Regions from separate parts of the Homo sapiens genome. Here region 2 is linked to region 1. The links are contacts of gene promoters, found by promoter capture Hi-C in human tissues and cell types (Jung and others, 2019). All regions are on one chromosome and are shown on one strand. The core of a region is centred on a gene start or on the middle of the fragment in contact, and the rest is flanking DNA. Distances in the headings are between cores, read along the strand shown. Region 1 holds the start of CDC25A (cell division cycle 25A). Region 2 overlaps SPINK8 (serine peptidase inhibitor Kazal type 8 (putative)).

Region 1 (2,780 bases), core at 137-2,636:
AAACACAGGAGGAGAGGAAAGTATTCAGAGATACGACAGGGAGAACTATTTGAAACAGTGGGACCACAGACCATGTGAACTGTGCAGAGAGGCCTAAATAGCCTGGGGTTTCTGGAGGGAAGGGAGGTTCCTGGGTGGTGGAGCACTGGTGCACAGAAAAGGAGATGAATCCTGAGAGAGAGGTTCCTCACTGTGAAGGGTCTGGTGTTGGGGCCAAAGGTTTGGGGTTTCCACCTGTCCAGCATGGCTTTTCAAACTGTAGGGTTTTTTTTTTTTGAGTGGGGGGCAGGGGGTGTCTCACTTTGTTGCCCAGGCTGGTCTCAAATTCGTGGGCTCAGGCAATCCTCCCACCTCGCCCTCCCAAAGTGCTGGGATGATAGGCGTGAGCCACTAAGCCCAGCAGTAGGTTGCAATTAAATCATGCACTTATGGCCCTCAAAATCCGTCTAGGAGCTGCCACAGGTTCGGCGCTGTAAAAGTAAATATGCCCACTTAGAAAATGGGGATAATTCCTATGTCACAGAGTTGTAAAGATTAAATGAATTAATACAGATTAACACACTGGGAACAGTGTCAAGTGCATAAGCATTATGTAAACTTTAGCTATTATTTGCTATTATTGTGTTTGCTGTTATTTCTCTCTAGGAGCTCCCAGGGGGCTAAGAAGTGGTGGGAAAGAAAGAAATGATTCTAAGAGCATCCAATAAGGGCTAGAATGGAAGTGAGCAAAAAATGCTGAGGCCCACAGCACAGGTTGTACTGCGGGGTTCAAATCCCATGAGGCCAGCAGCACCCAGGGTCTGTGAGCCCTCCAGAGTTGGGCCCTGGTGGTCGAGTCCAGTCCTGGGGGTCATTGCATTCCCTCCCTCATTATAAAATGGGGCCTGGAGGCCCGGGGCGGAAGAAAGGGGTCCACAATACTGCACGGTTAGAGGCCGAGCCAAGGCTGGATCCGGCCAGACCTCCACAGGTCTTCCTTAGCCTCCACATTGCCTCAGAGTGTGGGGCGCCCGGCTGGGGGCGAGGTAGCGGAGGCCCAAAGGGGGCCGAAGCTAACTGGACGGCAGCTCGCGATGGGAACTACGCTTCCCAGCATGCGACGGGGCAAAGGGGCCTTTCAGCCGCGAGCAGCGCCTCGCAGGTTCTGCTGGGAGTTTTCATTGACCTCTGCTCCCCCTCTCATTTTGATCCCCGCTCTTCTGCTCTGGGCTCCGCCCCCTTCTGAGAGCCGATGACCTGGCAGAGTCCCGCGAGCCGCTTTCTTCTTCCCCTCTCATTGGCCCAGCCTAGCTGCCATTCGGTTGAGAGGAGGAGAAGTTGCTTACTGATTGGTGGATTCCGTTTGGCGCCAACTAGGAAAGGGGGGCGGGGCAGCAGCTGGCCCCACTGAGCCGCTATTACCGCGAAAGGCCGGCCTGGCTGCGACAGCCTGGGTAAGAGGTGTAGGTCGGCTTGGTTTTCTGCTACCCGGAGCTGGGCAAGCGGGTGGGAGAACAGCGAAGACAGCGTGAGCCTGGGCCGTTGCCTCGAGGCTCTCGCCCGGCTTCTCTTGCCGACCCGCCACGTTTGTTTGGATTTAATCTTCAGGTTGCCGGCGCCCGCCCGCCCGCTGGCCTCGCGGTGTGAGAGGGAAGCACCCGTGCCTGTGGCTGGTGGCTGGCGCCTGGAGGGTCCGCACACCCGCCCGGCCGCGCCGCTTGCCCGCGGCAGCCGCGTCCCTGAACCGCGGAGTCGTGTTTGTGTTTGACCCGCGGGCGCCGGTGGCGCGCGGCCGAGGCCGGTGTCGGCGGGGCGGGGCGGTCGCGGCGGAGGCAGAGGAAGAGGGAGCGGGAGCTCTGCGAGGCCGGGCGCCGCCATGGAACTGGGCCCGGAGCCCCCGCACCGCCGCCGCCTGCTCTTCGCCTGCAGCCCCCCTCCCGCGTCGCAGCCCGTCGTGAAGGCGCTATTTGGCGCTTCAGCCGCCGGGGGACTGTCGCCTGTCACCAACCTGACCGTCACTATGGACCAGCTGCAGGGTCTGGGCAGGTAAGGAGAGACCGGCGGGCGGTGCTCCGGGCCCCTGGCCTCGGTGTCGGCCTCGGAGAGATCAGGCCAGGAAACGGACCGGGAGAAGGGCGAGACCCGTCCGTCCGGGTTCGCCGCTCGGGGACAGCCGGGCTAGGGCCTGCCATGTGCACCCCCGCCCGGGCGGAATGTTGGGCGGGAGAGGCCGTCGGGACCTTCCAGGGGAAGAGGTGGAGATCCTTGGGCCTAAGCCCGAGCCAGGCCCACCTTCACCCCTTTCGGATTGCTCCGTACTCTCCTTCTATCTCTATCCCTGGAAGCTCTTTGGAATCTACCCCCGCGGGGAAAATCAGGCTCTTCTAGGCACTCACTTTCACCCTTTGCTAAACCATCCTCAGGATCTTCGTTTGCTGTGATCTTTGTTCCTTCTCAACAAAGGACCATGGCATTTTCTTTCCTGGCGTTTATGTAAAATCATCTCAGTCCCTCGCCCTGTGCACATTCCTGATGTCCACTCTGCTGCTTTCCTAAGGCCAGGTCTTTTTACCCAACTTTCAGAAAGCTTCCTGGGCTTTTCCTGATAGCAAAAAATGCATCCCACGGTGTTTCCCGCGGAAGAGCTACTTTCCCTTCAATCTCTGGCATCCCGTTTGCTAAGCACATGTCTTGTGCGTTTCCCAACTTCTGAAAAGCAGAAAGTGTCCTGTTCAACTTTCATCCCGACTCTGTCTCAGTACTTAGAACACATGCTTTTATTTTAGGAAATACCCCAACAT
Region 2 (2,780 bases), core at 195-2,694, 130 kb before region 1:
CAACCTCTGCCTCCTGGGTTCAAGTGATTCTTCTGCCTCAGCCTCCCGAGTAGCTTGGACTACAGGTACGTGCCACCACACCCAGCTAATTTTTGTATTTTTAGTAGAGATGGGGTTTCACCATGTTGGCCAGGCTGGTCTCAAACTCCTGACCTTATGGTCTGCCCACCTCGGCCTCCCAAAGTGCTGGGAGTGCAGGCGTGAGCCGCCATGCCTGGCCCTTCATCAGAAATTTTAACCTGGAAAGACATTTCCCTACTTCTGCTCTCTGTAACCTACCAATCACATTTTGGGGTTGGTACAAAAATATGATTGTTAGGTTACAGAGGGCAGGGATTTTTATCTTTTTTTTTTTTTGGAGACGGAGTCTTGCTCTGTCGCCCAGGCTGGAGTGCAGTGGCGCGATCTCGGCTCACTGCAAGCTCCGCCTCCCAGGTTCACATCATTCTCCTGCCTCAGCCTCCCCAGCAGCTGGGACTACAGGCGCCCACCACCACGCCCGGCTAATTTTTTGTATTTTTAGTAGAGATGGGGTTTACCGTGGTCTCGATCTCCTGACCTCGTGATCCACCCACCTCGGACTCCCAAAGTGCTGGGATTACAGGCATGAGCCACCGCGCCCGGCCGGTATTTTTATCTTAATAAAGAATTTATGGGAGTCTGGAGAGTGCACAGATTATATATTATTTTGCAATTATATACATATTGTGGGTGGTAACTGTTGGGGTCAAACACTGAGGCTTCTGAATCCTTTTCTCTGAACTCCTGATCTGGTGCTCGTATTCCATCCACCTCCCAAGCTATACATAATAACGGCCAAAGGACCTGGATGAAAGTGTCTGAAGCAGTTGTGTGTGTCTCACCTTCAGGTTGAATGCCTCAAGAATGTAAATAAGTGCTGGTTTTTATCCTACATCAAGCCCAGTGAACCTATTTGTGGCAGTGACCAGGTTACCTACAGTAGTGACTGCCATCTGTGCTCCAAAATTCTGTAAGTCCTAATTTTGTTCTCCCTTTCTTTCAAGTCAAGAGGTTAAGAGTGGTCAAAAGAGGGTGATGACCTCAGCCCACTTCCTACATCATCCAATGAGACCTTCTCTCCAGACATTCCTCCAGTATTTGTTCCTCCCTTTCTTCCATTCCTTTCTGTGACCTCAAAAGGTACATGTGATCCTATTCAGACAATGCAGAAACAGAAATCCACTAAGGTGAGGGCACTGTGTGTGACCTGGACAAGCCTCAAGTGGAGGCACTCAGAAACAAGCAGCCATAGCATGTAGATCATGTGACCCTACATGAAGGTCATCCTCATGCCCCCTCAGGCCAAAGAACAGAAACAAAGAACAAAAAGAAGAGGAAGAGGAAGCTGGGTGAAGAATCTTCCCAGCTAATAGTTTATTGGTCCTAAAATGGATATTATTTTCCAAAACAACTTTCTTTTGCTTTCAACTTAGTATGTGGTTTAGTCTCTGCACCCATCACATGTTAGAAGCTTTGAGTAACACACAAGTGAAACGCCCAATTGTTTAGCCCAAGGGGAATAGTGAGGAGCAGGGGTTTGTATGAAGGAAACTCCGTATACAGTTAGGAGGATTCTCTGACATCTGCCTTCTCCTTTAAGGAGAAAAGCCACACCCTTGTCTAACTAAGGCTTACAAGTTGAGTGCTATCTTAAGAGAGAAAAGCAAAAACACAAGAGTAGATCAGAATTAAGTCTCTCTCCCCTTCCTCTTCTTAGCTTCTCCTCCAGAGAAGGAATAAGAATCTTCTTGATCAGGATGAGAGATATTTGGCTGGGCAGGATCGGACTTTCTTGTATTCTTGGCTGAATAAACACTAAAGCTTACACTAGAACCCATACGAGAGTTGTAAGGTAAACAACTTTGGTGTCAGCCTCAATCACTGGCACAGACGCTGACACCTGACAATCAGAAAGCATCATCTGGGGAATGCGCAGCATGACAGAGTCAAACGATGCTGGAACCAGGAGACATCTGAGAGATGGCCTCTAAAGAGCTCCCTTTCAGTGTATCTTAGAAATTATTCTAGCTGGGCGCAGTGGCTCACGCCTGTAATCCCAGCACTTTGGGAGGCCGAGGTGGGCGGATCACCTGAGGTCAGGAGTTCGAGACCAGCCTGGCCAATATGATGAAATCCCGTCTCTACTAAAAATACAAAAATTAGCCGGGTGTGGTGGTGCATGCCTGTAATCCCAGCTACTCAGGAGGATGAGGCAGAAGAATCCCTCGAACCCAGGAGGCGGAGGTTGCAGTGAGCTGAGATTGCATCACTGCACTCCAGCCTGGGAGATAAAGCAAGACTCCGTCTCAAAAAAAAAGAAATTATTCTCTTAGCAGTTGCACTGGATATTACAAGTTAAATTCTAATTTATACCAATCTAATTTGGATTAATACCAACTTAATTACAAAAATTTTAAAAAATATTTTTGCCTGGAGGGGTGGCTCAAGCCTGTAATCCCAACACTTTGGGAAGCTGAGGCAGAAGGATTGCTTGAGCCTAGGGATTTGAGACATGAGCAACATAGCGAGACCCTGACTCTACAAAAAAAAATTAAAAAATTAGCCAGGCATGGTGGCACCTGCCTGTAGTCCTAGCTACTTGGAAGTCAGGATGATTGCTTGAGCCCAGGAGTTCAAGGCTGCAGTGAGCCATGATCGTGCCACTGCACTCTAGCCTGGGCAACAGAGCAAAGTTCTTTTGAGACGGGCAGATCAGGAGGTCAGGAGATAGAGACCATCCTGGCTAACATGGTGAAACC

Evidence for each region. The method cuts DNA at HindIII sites, captures the fragments that hold promoters and counts their contacts. A contact is called where the count stands out against the background at its distance.
Region 2: a fragment that was not itself captured here is called in contact with the fragment with the promoter of CDC25A in region 1 in 1 of the 25 tissues and cell types used here (IMR-90 fibroblasts).

The regions. Positions count from the first base shown.
Region 1 is chr3:48,187,023-48,189,802 of GRCh38, reverse strand. CDC25A (cell division cycle 25A) reads left to right here and starts at 1,386. Exons shown (of 15, transcript NM_001789.3): 1 at 1,386-2,025. The coding sequence starts at 1,856. RefSeq lists a silencer at 1,720-1,929 and an enhancer at 1,673-2,301. The HindIII fragment of the contact is 16,525 bases long and covers 1-2,780 here.
Region 2 is chr3:48,317,708-48,320,487 of GRCh38, reverse strand. SPINK8 (serine peptidase inhibitor Kazal type 8 (putative)) reads left to right here. Exons shown (of 8, transcript NM_001080525.3): 6 at 870-991. Among named protein-coding and RNA genes, the nearest start is that of MIR2115, 2.6 kb to the right of the region's middle. The HindIII fragment of the contact is 4,808 bases long and covers 1-2,780 here.